Regions from separate parts of the Homo sapiens genome. Here regions 1, 2, 4 and 5 are each linked to region 3. The links are contacts of gene promoters, found by promoter capture Hi-C in blood cells and fetal thymus (Javierre and others, 2016). All regions are on one chromosome and are shown on one strand. The core of a region is centred on a gene start or on the middle of the fragment in contact, and the rest is flanking DNA. Distances in the headings are between cores, read along the strand shown.

Region 1 (2,700 bases), core at 102-2,601, 270 kb after region 3:
TATTTGTTGGTTATCTTTATGTTTCAAAACTTCTTAGATGTAGCAGAACTGGGCCTATAAAATAATAATACATGCCTGTAATCCCAGCACTTTGGGAGGCCGAGGCAGGCAGATCACCTGAGGTCAGGAGTTTGAGACCAGCCTGACCAACATGGAGAAACCCCGTCTCTACTAAAAATACAAAAATATAGCTGGGCATGGTGGTGCACAGCTGTAATCCCAGCTACTTGGGAGGCTGAGGCAGGAGAACCGCTTGAACCTGGAGGCGGAGGTTGCAGTGAGCCAAGATGGTGCCATTGCACTCCAGCCTGGGCGAGACAGTGAGACTTCGTCTCGGAAAAAAAAAAAAGATACTAGCTTGGGAACAATATATCAAAAATTTCACATGTAGGCCAGGCATGTTGACTCATGCATGTAATCCCAGCACTTTGGGAGGCTGAGGCAGGCAGCTCACTTGAGCCCAGGAGTTTGAGACCAGCCTGGGCAACATGGTGAAACCCCATCTCTACAAAACAATTTTAAAAAATAAGCTGGTCATGATGGCACACAGCTGTACTCCCAGCTACTTGGGAGGCTGAGGCAGGAGGATAGCTTGAGCCCAGGAGATTGTGAGGCTGCAGTGAGCCGTGTTGGCACCCCAGCCTGGGCAATACAGCAAGACCCTGTTGCCAAAAAAAAAAAAAAATTCTCATCTAAGTGAACACTGCCTTCCCATTGATGACCTTGAGAGGTTAGAGACCAATGGCAGTGACGGTGATCACATTATTATTTGAAGCCTTATTTGAATATTTAAGACTTAGTATGTTTGTTTAAAAAAATAATCATGTTGCATCATAACCATACTTTGTAAGACCAGATTACCGGTGACCGCTCGTGATGTTAAGCTAGTGAAGACAATGCAAGGTGGCCTGAAGCAGCATGAGGCAGACCATGGTCCCGACCTGCATTGGCTGGTGCTGGCTGCAGCTGCTGATGGAGGCTACAAACAGTGATAGAAGCATGCAGAAGCTACACAGCACAGGCCAAGGTGCTGTGGGAGAGGCGGAGGAGGAACACTGACCACTGGCGGCCTGGGGACACGGGAGGGCTGGCTTCTGAAACTCCATGGTGTGAGAATTCTGATCGCAGTAGGTAACTTTTCTGATGGGAAAGGTGCAGCATTGGTGGAAAAACAGGAGATGGCACTCAAGAATTTATACTGGAGAGAGACCAAGGACAGAGATTCTAAAAGCTTAAAGAAGGATAAACACCCGTGGCATGGGCATTCGTGTGTGTGTGTGTGTGTGTGTGTGTGTGTGTGTGTGTGTGAATTGCCAGAGCAAACTCTTATCCACCATGTTGTGCAAAAGTTATTAGGTTGATTAAGTTGTTGGCTTTTCTTTCCACGGGTTTGATAGAAAGTACGCACACACATCTTTTGTGTGGTATGACAGTGTGTGTGTACTCAGGGGAGGGTGCACGGGAGGTCAGTGGAAGCTTGTGTGTGGAGGGCAGGGGAGGATTTGGGTGTGAAAAGCCCAGAAATAGGGTGAGAGGCAATGTGTTCCATAGCCAAGGGTGAGAGTCAGGCAGAGATTTGCTTTCTTGGGCTTTGAGTCATGCCGATACTCATCGCTTAGCCTCATATATGGTAAGAATGGAGCGGGTGCTCTCTGTCTCAGTCTCTCCCTCACTCTCTCTTTTTCCCCCAGCAGCTGTGCAAAGCTTAAACCATGTGACCCTGAAAGCACAACACTGAAAGCCTCTGGCTGTGCCAAGAGGAGAGTGTAGGGAGACAAAGGCCAAGGCCAGGGCCAGGGCCAGCTGCCAGGAACTCCCATCCCCAGCAGGGATACAGAGAAATAACAGCAAGACGCCATTCGCCGACGCTCTCCTCATCAGGCCAACTCTCTAACTTGGAGATGAGGCCCTCCCGACTTTCTTTCCCGGCTCCCACCCTCCTGTCCACCCACCTCCTCAGAGTGAAACCCCAGGGCCCAGGAGCCAAATGCTGTCCTCTCTCTCTCTGGAGGGCCTGGGGGGCACCTGTACAGGCCAGATGGAGTCCTGAAGAGCTCAGGGTTTTGGAGTATAGGAGAGGGAGGAGACCCTCTGGAGGGTGGAGTCTGGAAGTTCAATAAGGTCTGTAGGATTTGAATAGCAGGATCAGCTCGGTATAACTGAGACACAGTCTTTGCACAAGGCTAAGACATCTCTTCCAGTCACATTCCAGTTTATGCAATGCACCTGCTGTTGGCTGATGGCCTCTGCTAGGAGGCCTTCAGGAGGAAGTAGAACCAATTTGGTGCCCTCATCCTTCCTCTCTCTTTCTTTACTTCTCCAGGCCCACCGCAACCTCATCAATCCTTACCTGAAGTCTTAGTTCTACCACAGGCCCGAGACCTAGATATTCTGGTTGGACTTCTTACCAGATCCACAAGGCGCTGCATATATCCTCTTAAAATAGCCATTTGTACTTCCCTGGGTCTTGCTCTGTTACCCATGCTGGAGTGTAGTGGTGCGATCACAGCTCACTGCAGCCTTGACTTCCCGGGCTTAAGCGATCCTCCCACCTCCCACCTCTGCTTCCTGAGTAGCTGGGACCATTGGCGTGCAACACCACACCCTGCTAATTCTTATAGAGACAGGGTCTCACTATATTGTCCAGACTGGTCTCAAACTCCTGGGCTCAAGTGAGCTACCTGCTTCGACCTCCCAAAG
Region 2 (2,700 bases), core at 111-2,610, 350 kb after region 3:
GATGACTTAGGAAGGGGAGAGAGGACTAGAGAAGCAGAGGGAGGTGACCAAGGATATGCAATTCCATGGGCGCTTCAGGCTTTATGTGATGATAAGGGGAGGGGGACTTCAACCAAATGTAACATGAATGGAATTCAGCTTTGGTTGAGACACAAGTGCTGTCAAAGTTTTGTCTGTTTAGGCCATTTTAGAAAAGTTTGGTGCTATTTTAAATTGATTAATTGGTTAATCACCTTTGGTTTTGTTTACTGAGCAACAAGTAATGATTTGGTATTGGCCCAAATCTACTCACCTGAAGTACAGTGCTTTTGGTGTTCATGATTTGGTTCAATTTGCCTAACGTTAGTTTTGTTTTTTTTTTTTTTTTTGAGACGGAGTCTCACTCTGTCACCCAGGCTGGAGTGCAGTGGCACCATCTGGGCTCACTGCAAGCTCCACCTCTCAGGTTCACGCCATTCTCCTGCCTCAGCCTCCCAAGTAGCTGGGACTACAGGCGCCCGCCGCCACGCCCAGCTAATTTTTTGTATGTTTAGTAGAGATGGGGTTTCACCGTGTTAGCCAGGATGGTCTCGATCTCCTGACCTCGTGATCCGCCCGCCTTGGCCTCCCAAAGTGCTGGGATTACAGGCGTGAGCCACTGTGCCCGGACTTTTTTTTTTTTTTTTTTTTTGTGAAACGGAGTGTCGCTCTGTCACCAAGGCTGGAGTGCAGTGGCGCGATCTAGGCTCACTGCAAGCTCCACCTCCTGGGTTCACGCCATTCTCCTGCCTCAGCCTCCCGAGTAACTGGGACTACAGGCGCCTGCTACCACACCCGGCTAATTTTTTGTATTTTTAGTAGAGACGGGGTTTCACCGTGTTAGCCAGGATGGTCTTGATCTCCTAACCTTGTGATCTGCCCGTCTCGGCTGGGATTACAGGCAGGAGCCACCGCGCCTGGCCTCCAACCTAAAGTTAGTTTTAATGGATATTTTACACTTCTTTGTACAGCATGATTTTGTGGCCATTTTAATTTTAGAGTTAACCAAATTATTCCAGTTGCCAGAGGAGTATGATGCCTCTCTCTAACAAAAAGCTGTGTTCTCCCAATTTATTTTGAAAACTTAAAATATCTATCCTGCACATCTTAATCAATTTGGAGTAATAAGATACTTTTATAGTTGTTCTATGATTGCTATTTTCCATTGCCATTAACCAGGAGTAAGCAAAAACCAGCAAGCCGTGTGGCTGGTGGTAACCAAGTGCCCGCAGTCTGGAAAATGCCAGGCTCAGAGAGTCAGTGGGGAGATACAAAATAGCGAGGGTAGACCCTGGGGCCCCAGGACCAGGAATGCTGAATGGTAGAAGTCACCCCTCTGAGCTGGACCGGCAGGCAAGCAGCCTGGCTGTGCACATGAACAGCTCAGCCACTCCACCCATGGTCTTTTGTCAGATTCTGCCATCATAACAGCTACCACATTCACATTAACTACTGCCCTGTAGTCAGGATTTCTTTTTTTATTTTTTATTGTATTTTTCCCCTGAGATGGAGTCTTGCTCTGTTGCCCGGGCTGGAGTGCAGTGGTGCAATCTTGGCTCACTGCAAACTTTGCCTCCCGGGTTCAAGTGATTCTCCTGCCTTAGCCTCCCAGGTAGCTGGGATTACAGGCATGCACCACCACGCCTGGCTAATTTTTGTATTTTTAGTAGAGATGGGGTTTCACCATGTTGGCCAGGCTGGTCTCGAACTCCTGACCTCAGGTGATCCACCTGCCTCAGCCTCTCAAAGCATTGGGATTACAGGCGTGAGCCACCAAGCCTGGCCCCTAGTCATGCTTTCAATCATTCAGAGGTTTTACTGGTACCTATTGTGTGTCAGGGTTTGTCTCAGTTGCTGGAGGTGAAGAGATGAGCATGCCTCAGTTTTCTTGGCGGGAGTTACAAGTGTGAGGCACCAGCTGCGTGCTGGCCTCATAGCTGCCCTGCATGGGTCTGAGGCTTTGACCTGGCTGTTCTGCTGAGTGAGGAGTGTAGCATTCCTTTTCACTGCTATCCTTCTAGCTACATATATAATTTCCCCCCAAGACTATGCCTATTTTTTATGTGACAGTTCTAATCATCCTGGCAAAACCAGTCAAGGTCTTCCAAAAAATGAAATTCTTTTTTCTTTTTCAAATGGAAACAAACAACCAGCTAGTAGGAGAATGAATGGGGAAAAAAGAGAATGAATGAGAGACATGGTGGGTGATGGGGAAATTAACAAAGCGGAAATGTCCCCTCATTCTCTCTCCTTAAAGCAGAAGCTCTGGAGTTATGTCCTGAAGGATCATTATGGTAGCATTAGCATAAGCTAAGAAAAGTATGTTCCCTGGAGAGGATGCTGCTAAACTTCATCTTCTTGCATTCTCTCCAACAGTACTTGTCCCCACTTGACTCAGGTCAAGAGATGTTAGCACTTAGAGGAGAACAGGTTGGCCCAGGCACAAGGTTTATGGCAGTCGGCTCAGTTCTAGCAATGTATGTGATGTGGCCAAATTCATATACATTGCCTTTCCCTTCCCCACTTTGCCCCTCTCCCAGTATCACCTCCACCTCCAAGATGCCACCTGTGCCTAAGAGGAATGACGGCTGCTGTGGGTCCAGTGGCTGCCTGGCTACCCATGTTGCCACACAGCTGGCTGCCATTCCCACACCAGCCCCTCAGGAGGATGTGCATTTTAAA
Region 3 (2,700 bases), core at 58-2,557:
ACGCACACCCTGGGCCGCAGGCAGAGGCTTGGCCAGGGTCGTCCTCCCGGCAGTGCCTCCCTGGAGCTCTGTCTACCTCAACTCCTGATGCCAGAGGATCCCTCTGCGCTCCCCACACCCTTAAGACCCCAGCTCAGGGAATCTGGTCTCGGTCATCACTCCCAGGGGACTGCAGGGCCCCAGGACGGCACACATTCAGGCCCAGGAGAGCTCCCCCCATCTCAAAGCCTCCTGTGGGTGGAGATGGAATGTGGAAAAACCGCATCCTCTGCAGCTCCCCCACAGTGAGAGCGAGGACTGAGGGTGTGGATAAGGCTCCAGGAAGGGGGTGCAAGCCTGAGAAGGTGGAAGAGCTCTGGGTGGGTCCATCTGCTCCTCACCTGCCCCAACCCTGCCTGCAGGTGAAGGCCGGTCCAGCCGCAGAAGGCCCAGCCCCCAGCCCACTTACAGAATCCGCACTGTGCTCCTCCAGCCGGCCCGGCCCCTCGCTGCCCACCGAGCCATCATGACCCCAGCACCGCTGCACATTCGTATTTGTTGAATGAATGAATGAACCCTTGCCAGCCCAGCCACTTGGTGGCTGAGGGCTTCAGAGCTCTCCCAGGGTCCCCTGGGGTCATTCAGCCACTCAACAGTTTCCCAGCAGCAGCAGCGAGGATCCGCACATCATTGCCAGTGCTCTAAGGAGCGGGCGAGCCCCAGTAAGCGGCCGCTCTGACCGCGCTTTGTCAGCCCTGAGCTCCGCTCGGGAGGAGCCGGCAGGTGTCTGCGGTGCTGGAAAGACCACGGTGTGGGCGGGGATTCCGATCCGCCGGCAAGGGTGGCCTGCACCCGGCCAGGCCCGCGGGTTTTCTCCTCTCCGGGGCTGGCCTCGGCCCCTCCCCCTCCCCGCGCCCCGCACCCCTCCCCTGAATCCCCAGGCCACGTGGAGAGGACACAACAAAGCCTTCCCCGCCTCCGAGGCGGACCCGACCCTCAGCACCGACCTGCCGGCCGCGCCGAGGAGGGCGCCCGGGCGGAGGGGAGGCGGGAGAGACCCGGCCCTCAGGTCGCTGCTGAGGCCTGGGGCTCTGACCCCCCGCCTCCCCTCCTCTGGCTCCCACCGCGGTCGGGCCCAGGGCGGGCGGCGGGCCCTGAGCTCCACGCCGGGGCAGGCGGCAGGCAGGGGTCACGGGCTGGGGCTCGGCGCGTACCCCGGGAGGGGCGCGGGTGCACTCACCACCCTCCAGCCGCGGGGGCGCGGGCGCGTCCGGGCCGAGGCAGCGTCTCCCAGGCGCGCGGACACGGTCGACTACCCGCTTCCTCCTTATGGCGCCCCGCGCGCTTCCTCCTTCGGCCCCCCACGCCCGGGCCCGCCCCGGCCCGCCCCGGCCCGCCCCCGGCGGCTTGCGGGGACCCGGGGAGCCCGCGCCGGCGCGGGGCTGTGGAGCGGGGCGGGGAGCCGGCAGCGCAGTGAGAACCAGGCTTTCCACCCTTACCCCTTACGCGACTGTTTCAGACAGTGTCGTCCAACTTTAAGTTGGCCACTTACTCCAGCGCCGCTGGGATAATTCCTAATGATTCTCTGGGAAACATTCAGAATCCCCAGGCTGTTTCTGGAACAGTCTGGGGTGGTCATTCTAGGTCCTCACGGAACCAGGGGTTTGGAAAGTGGGTGAAGCCATGTGGGTTGCAGAGAATCTGGCCCAGCCCCTCACCAGTCCCTGTGCTTGTTGTTTATTCTTTAATTATTTGGATATCAACTCTGATTTAAAACATCAGTTTAACATATAGATAATGCTGGGACTACAGGCGCACACCACACCCAACTAATTTCTTTTTCAGTTTTTAGTGGAGGTGGTGGGGGGGGGGTCTCCACCTCTGGAGGTCTCAGGCTGGTCTCGAACTCCTGGGCTCCAGCGATGCTTCCCACCTCGGCCTCCCAAGGTGCTGGAATGACAGGCCAGTCCATGCATCCCCGGATGCAGCTCTCACCGGCAGTGCTGCTGCAGAGCCCTTTGTGGGCGTCTTCACTTCTCTTGAGTGTGATACCTAGGAGTGGAAATGCGAATCATAGGGCTGGACGAGCTTCATGGTATTAAAAACTGCCTGCTTTCCAAGGTGATGCACACCGTTCGGCACTTCCACCAGCCCTGTTGGAGCGTCCAGTTGCTCTGCGCCCTCGCGTGGGCTCACTCCCTGAGCCCACTGTGGCTCCTCCAGACGCCCTCACTTCTACCCGGGCTCCCTAGACTCTTGCCTCTTTTATAAAAGGTCAGAGGATGTCACTCACGCTTTAACATCCTCTGAATAAAAGCCAAGTTCCTTTCAGTGGCCCGCAGAGTCCCACGCGACCTGCCCTGCTCTAAGCAAATCCTACCCTGTCCCTGTTCCTCCTCGGCAGCCCCATGGCCTCTGGCTTTCACCAGGCCTCACTTCATTTTCCTCCACAGCCAGCATCGCAGCATGACATACCACGGAGTCGTTTGTGTGTGTGTTGCCTACCTCCCCTCTCGGAATGTAGCCTCCACGAGGACAGGGGCTTGTTTCCTGCATGCTCTTCACTCGGGCTGGGCACTCTGGGGGGCTAACAAATGGAAGATCCTGTGAGCAGGGAAACCGTCAGATGGCATTAGGGGCCGGTGCCCTGCAGAAGACGAAAGGGAAACTTCATGGACTGAGGCCAGGTCATCTGCAGGGTGGTGTTCAAATTCATGGTAC
Region 4 (2,700 bases), core at 185-2,684, 380 kb after region 3:
GGAGGCCGAGGCAGGTGGATCACGAGGTCAGGAGATCAAGACCATCCTAGCTAACACGGTGCAAACCCATCTACTAAAAATAAAAAATATTAGCTGGGCGTGGCGGCAGGCGCCTGTAGTCCCAACTACTCGGGAGGCTGAGGCAGGAGAATGGCGTGAACCTGGGAGGCGGAGCTTGCAGTGAGCCAAGATCCGGCCACTGCACTCCAGCCTGGGCGACAGAGGGAGACTCCGTCTCAAAAATAAAAATAAAAATAAAAAAAGAAAAAAGAAATGCAAAATAATGTGAACACGTCATCGAGACTGCGGTCTACAATTGTGGTTGCCATGATGGGGTGGGTCGGAAGACACCGAGGCTGCTTGAATCATGTTCCTGGCAGGTTAATTTTGTTCCTTTTAGGGCATCTAAATGTTGGAGTTGGCTTTCCTGGCAGAGAGTCCAGTTGTGAGTGGAGTATTGGGTGGAGGCCCCACCCTCCCCAGGTTTTCTGCAGCTTGTTCCTGGCTCTTCTGGGGCTTCTCTGAGGACCCCGATTGGTCCTGGGGCTTCTTTAGTGGTGGGCCTGGGCCAGTTCCTTCCGTTGCTCACCTCTCCCCGAAGCTTAAGGATAACATTTCGGGAAGATCATGAGAGAACGTGAACCAAAAAAAAAAAAAAAAATTCAGGTAGGGTGGGAGCTAAGTTAGTTTAGTATTTGGGATTTTTGTTTTGTTTTGTTTGAGACAGAGTCTCAAACAAAGACCCCGCGCCTGGCCTGGGGGTCTTTTTTTGAGTCAGCAGTTGAGTTTGAAAATCCCCTTCCTTGGAATCCGCCCAGGCTGTTTTCTCTGGTGGATGCTTATTGCCCCTGCTAACTTCAGCTGCGGTCTCTCTGCTCGCCTTGCCCTCCCCATCCTCCTTAGACCTTTTAAGCTTCACTTTCCTTTCCTTGCTGCCCCGCCTCCCTGTCTCCCCAGTGTGATCTACCCTGAAAGGCTGCTGTATTTTGTTTCCCTTTGGGACCGAGCCTGCTCAAATGATCTGCTCCATGAGGTTTTACTGCTATATCCTACTGAAGTATCTGGGAGGTCTTGGCGGAGAAGAGGACAACATCTTGGAAAATGCAGCCTGGAACCTCTCTGCTCTCTTTCATCAGCTTTCCCTCAATGATGAGCTCAAAATCCTCTTTCTTGCTGATGGAATTGTCTGCTGTCATCATTTCAGTTGAGTCCTCCTAGGCTGGGCCTTGTAAGAAGAACAACTGTTTATAACTATTGAAAGTCAATATTTACTAAGAAAAAGAGGTTGTTGTTATCTGAGCCATCCAACATGAATTTAAGAATATATTCCAGGCTGGGCGCGGTGGCTCATGCCTGTAATCCCAGCACTTTGGGAGGCCGAGATGGGTGGATCACCTGAGGTCAGGAGTTCAAGACCAGCCTGGCCAACATGGTGAAACCCCGTCTCTACTAAAAATACAAAAATTAGCCATGCGTGGTGGCACATGCCTGTAGTTCCAACTATTTGGGACACTAAGGCAGGGGAAGTGCTTGAACTCGGGAGGCAGAGGTTGCAGTGAGCTGAGATTGTACCACTGCACTCCAGCCTGGGTAAAAAGAGTGAAATTCCATCTCAAAAAAAAAAAAGGAGACAGGGTCTTGCCCTGTTGCCCAGGCTGGAGTGCCGTGGCACGATCATAACTCACTGTGGCCTCAAATTCCTGGGCTCAACTGATTCTCCTGCCTCAGTCTCCCAAGTAGCTGGGACCACAAGTACATGCCACCATGCTAGGCTAATTTTATTTTTATTTTTAGAAAATAAAATATTTTTTATTTTATTTAGGCAACATGCTATGTTGCCTAGACTGGTCTTGAACTCCTGGCTTCAAGCTATCCTCTTGCCTCAGCCAACCAAAGTGCTGGGATTGCAGGTGTGAACTGCCATGCCTGGCTTTCTATTCTCTATTTCTAGGAGATAAGCTTTTTGAGCTTTCACATATGAGTGTGAACATGTGGTATTTATCTTTCTGTGCCTAGGTTATTCCACTTAACGTAATGTACTCCAGGCTCATCCATGTTGATGGGAATTACAGGATTTCATTCTCTTGTAATGGCTGAATAACATCCCATTTTGTGTATATAGTCCACATGTTCTTTATCCATTCCTCTTTTGATAGACACTTAGGTTGATTCCGTATCTCGGGTATTATGAGCAGTGCTGCAGTAAACATGAGAGTGCAAATATCTCTTCAACATACTGATTCCCTTTCCTTTGGATATATATTCAGCAGTGGCATTACTAGATCATGTGGTATATCTATTTTTAGGTTTTTAAGGAATCTCCATACTGTTTTCCATAATGGCTCTACTAATTTACATTCCCACCAATGATTTGGTTGAGTTTATTCCTCACTCTGAGCAGCATGTTAGCTGGACTTAAACCCCGTCCAGCTTGTCTACATCTGGCCCATCACTTGCCAGTGGGAAAGGCACTTACTTCTTTGTATCTCAGTTTTCTCATCTGTCAAATGGAAATATAACAGTAATTAATTCACATGGCTGTGTAAGGATAAATAAGACAGTACATATAAAAGGCTTTCACCTTTTATAAGAAATAGTGCTTCGATGTTACCCATTATTATTATTTTATTTCATCTTATTTATTTATTTAGATACAAGGTCTCATTTGTTGCCCAGGCTGGAGTGTAGTGGCACAATCAT
Region 5 (2,700 bases), core at 90-2,589, 340 kb after region 3:
CTTACATTATAAGATAGACAAAAATTCAACGCATGCTTTACTAAGTACCGTTTGTATCAGTGGGTAAAGCACTGTGTTTGGTACTCTCTCAAATGCAAAGATGATTACGACACATGTACTATCGTTTATGAATGGGTGGCCAACAGAACAGATTGCCGCATAGGTAAGCAGAAATCTGCTCTCATTCTCTATTGGCCACAAGCAGGCATGTCTTAGGAGCAGAAGGGTAGGAAGATCTCTAACTGTGCTTGGAAACTTGGGGAGTTACCACGTCTGGCTAAAGTGGTATTGTCTTAAGGAAAACCTATGAATTTGCCTGCGTTGGCTTGGTGCTGAGGAAAGTGGAAGAGAGAGGCTGGGGTACACCTTTCAACATGAATGGAACTGACCACTGGAGGGAAAGAACAAGAAACAGCAGTGAGAACAAGGAACAAAGACCATCCAGCCCCTCACCCACCTGGGGGGAAGTGAGGGGAGATGGGCAGGGTGACAACGTGGCCAACATCTAAAGTGTGAAGAGGGGCTTTTACCAAGTGCCCACCCCTTCCCGAGCAGGGGGCAACCAACAGCATCTGGCGGGTCTTACTACTGGGCAGAGGCAGGGGAACCCTGGTATGAGTTCTGGATTACATAGGAGATGTGACTTGGACACGTTTGGGGCTTAAAAGTAGGAAGGGATCAAGGGGGGAGATTTGAAAATCCCGGTGGAGGTGCGAGGTATCCGGGGAGAGGGTAAAAACGGGAACAGTCTTCAGCACCTGCCTGTACCAGGAGCTCTGTGTATGCCATCTCATTTCCGTCTCCAGCAACCAGGCGGGCCTTGGCGGCAGGAGGCACAGGCTTTGGGAGCAGAGGCCCTGCAGCTTGCCAAGCACACACGGCCCTAGGGCGCCCAGCTGAGACGGCACCTTGGCACCCGGGCCCGCTGCAGCCCGCTCCGGTCAGCTGCACCCCAGTCAGGAGCCTTTCCAGCGGGTCGGAGGAGAACGGAAGTTTGGGGAGACCCGCGCGATTCGCCTGGCTGCATTTTACATTTCTTTCTCCGGCAGCTGGGGTCACGAAGGCTGCTCTCGCCGGCGGTGTTGGAACGTGGACACGTGCGCTTTGGTAATAGGGCAGCCTCCCCCGCGGGCGCAGTCCCCGCTGCGAGCGCCCCCGGCTGCTGAGGCGGGACCGAGGACCCGGAGATTTGAGCCGCGGGTGGGCGGGGAGGGGCCTTTGTGACCTGCCCGCCCCTCCCCGGCACTGTGATGCCGGGGGGCAGCTGCGGGCCCGGCGCGCCTGTCCCCGGCGTCCCCCCCTCCCGGTGTGTCACAACGGCGGAGGCGGCTGTATCTGGAGCAGTCGGGGCGGGCAGGCCCAGCTGAGAGGTGCGCGGGCGAGGACAGCGGCAGCGATGGTGAGGCTTCCCGGGGCCAGGCGGGCTGCGGGCGCGCGGCAGGCGTAGGACCGAGAGCCGAGTCTACGCGGAGGCGCACGGACCCGTCTTCCTGGAGCCGCAGGGCTCAAGGCCTTCTGGGGGTGGCAGTTCAGGGTCGAGGAGTCCGCACCCTCGGGCGGGAACACCCGGTGCCCTTTATCGTATGGGGGAAATAGAGACCAGGGGCCAGTTGTTCCTTAAAGGGACCTAAGGGAGCTTTGCGTGCAGACGAGGGGGAGGGAGGCCCTGGGGAGCCCGACGGAGAAGGGGGCGAGATTCTGGGGTCCCCAGATGGGCAGCCTGTGGACAGAGTGGAGAGAAGGGCGAGTCCGGGGATTCTGGATGGGTGGTCTGGGCCGGGGCGACTGGGGGGCCAGATGCAGTCACGTCTCCGAACCCAGCCTAATGTGACAGGGCCCGGAATGTGACAGAGGACCTAGGGCGCCACGGTCCCCCCACGCGTGGAGGTCTTTCTCGCAAGCCTGGCCAGCGGCTTGGGTTTGCTGCACGCACAGCCCCAGCGCGGCGGGGTCCTCCGGGCGCACTCAGCAGCTCCCAAGTCTTTCCAGCGGTCAGAGTCGAAGGACTTTGGGAGTAAGAAGTCTCTGCTTCCAAAGGCCAGGGGACCTTCGACCTGTTTCCTACCCTGGCTTAGGGGGATCGCGGCTGCTCCCTTCCCTGCCCCCGCCCCTGGATCTTACTGAGGGGCGGCTGCAAACACTCAGTTCCTCTTTCTAGGGTCCCCCTCTCCGCCCCCAGTGCCCCTGGTGGTTAACATTTGCCCCCAGTCCACTTTCCCAAAGCCCAGAATCCCAGGAATCCCTCCTGGACCCCTGATCTTTCAGCAGTAGGGAGATGGGCTGGAAAGATTGGGGGCAGAGTGAGGGCAGAATAAGCCTATGTCATGGCCAAGGTCGGGTTCCCTGGGCAGGCTTGCTCCAGGTGTCAGTGATCCAGAAAGCAGGCGAGAACCCCCTCCGCCCCGCCCTGTTACGTTTGGCCCGTGCCCAGGGCCTCCTGGCTCCCCCGGAGCTCTAGCCTTCCAGCTTCAGTTTTGTCAGCACCCTCCCTCCTCCTAGCGGGCTCCCAGACACCCCTGGGAACTGAAAGAACTTGGGAATATTAGGGAGGGTGGCCACAGGAACCTATTTCTGCCTGAGGACCCTGGTATGAGGCCACACAAAGGGCCCGGAGCTGCCAGTTCAGAATTTTGACTCCTGGCTCTGCAGCTAGCTGTGTGACTTCAGGAAGGTCACTTAACCTCTCTGGATGTGTTTGTT

What was found. Contacts are between HindIII fragments. The CHiCAGO score rates a contact against its expected background, and 5 or more counts as called.
Region 1: a fragment that was not itself captured here is called in contact with the fragment with the promoter of BID in region 3 in 1 of 17 cell types (erythroblasts); the score reaches 6.2 in erythroblasts.
Region 2: a contact is called between a fragment that was not itself captured here and the fragment with the promoter of BID in region 3, in 1 of 17 cell types (M1 macrophages). The highest score is 5.7, in M1 macrophages.
Region 4: a contact is called between a fragment that was not itself captured here and the fragment with the promoter of BID in region 3, in 3 of 17 cell types (total B cells, activated CD4 T cells and erythroblasts). The highest score is 6.1, in total B cells.
Region 5: the fragment with the promoter of TUBA8 here is called in contact with the fragment with the promoter of BID in region 3 in 1 of 17 cell types (megakaryocytes); the score reaches 7.4 in megakaryocytes.

The regions. Positions count from the first base shown.
Region 1 is chr22:18,043,149-18,045,848 of GRCh38, forward strand. No RefSeq gene overlaps it. Among named protein-coding and RNA genes, the nearest start is that of LINC01634, 15 kb to the left of the region's middle. The HindIII fragment of the contact is 245 bases long and covers 1,230-1,474 here.
Region 2 is chr22:18,127,044-18,129,743 of GRCh38, forward strand. The region is part of intron 4 of TUBA8 (tubulin alpha 8); the gene reads left to right. Among named protein-coding and RNA genes, the nearest start is that of TUBA8, 18 kb to the left of the region's middle. The HindIII fragment of the contact is 6,961 bases long and covers 1-2,700 here.
Region 3 is chr22:17,773,162-17,775,861 of GRCh38, forward strand. BID (BH3 interacting domain death agonist) reads right to left here and starts at 1,308. Exons shown (of 6, transcript NM_001196.4): 1 at 1,220-1,308. RefSeq lists silencers at 817-1,146, 1,177-1,246, 1,267-1,316, 1,337-1,436. The HindIII fragment of the contact is 11,451 bases long and covers 1-2,700 here.
Region 4 is chr22:18,151,816-18,154,515 of GRCh38, forward strand. All of the region lies in intron 1 of USP18 (ubiquitin specific peptidase 18), which reads left to right. Among named protein-coding and RNA genes, the nearest start is that of USP18, 3.0 kb to the left of the region's middle. RefSeq lists an enhancer at 775-1,024. The HindIII fragment of the contact is 1,046 bases long and covers 912-1,957 here.
Region 5 is chr22:18,109,470-18,112,169 of GRCh38, forward strand. It overlaps TUBA8 (tubulin alpha 8), which reads left to right and starts at 1,340. Exons shown (of 5, transcript NM_018943.3): 1 at 1,340-1,399. The coding sequence starts at 1,397. RefSeq lists an enhancer at 837-1,036 and a silencer at 1,117-1,506. The HindIII fragment of the contact is 5,564 bases long and covers 1-2,700 here.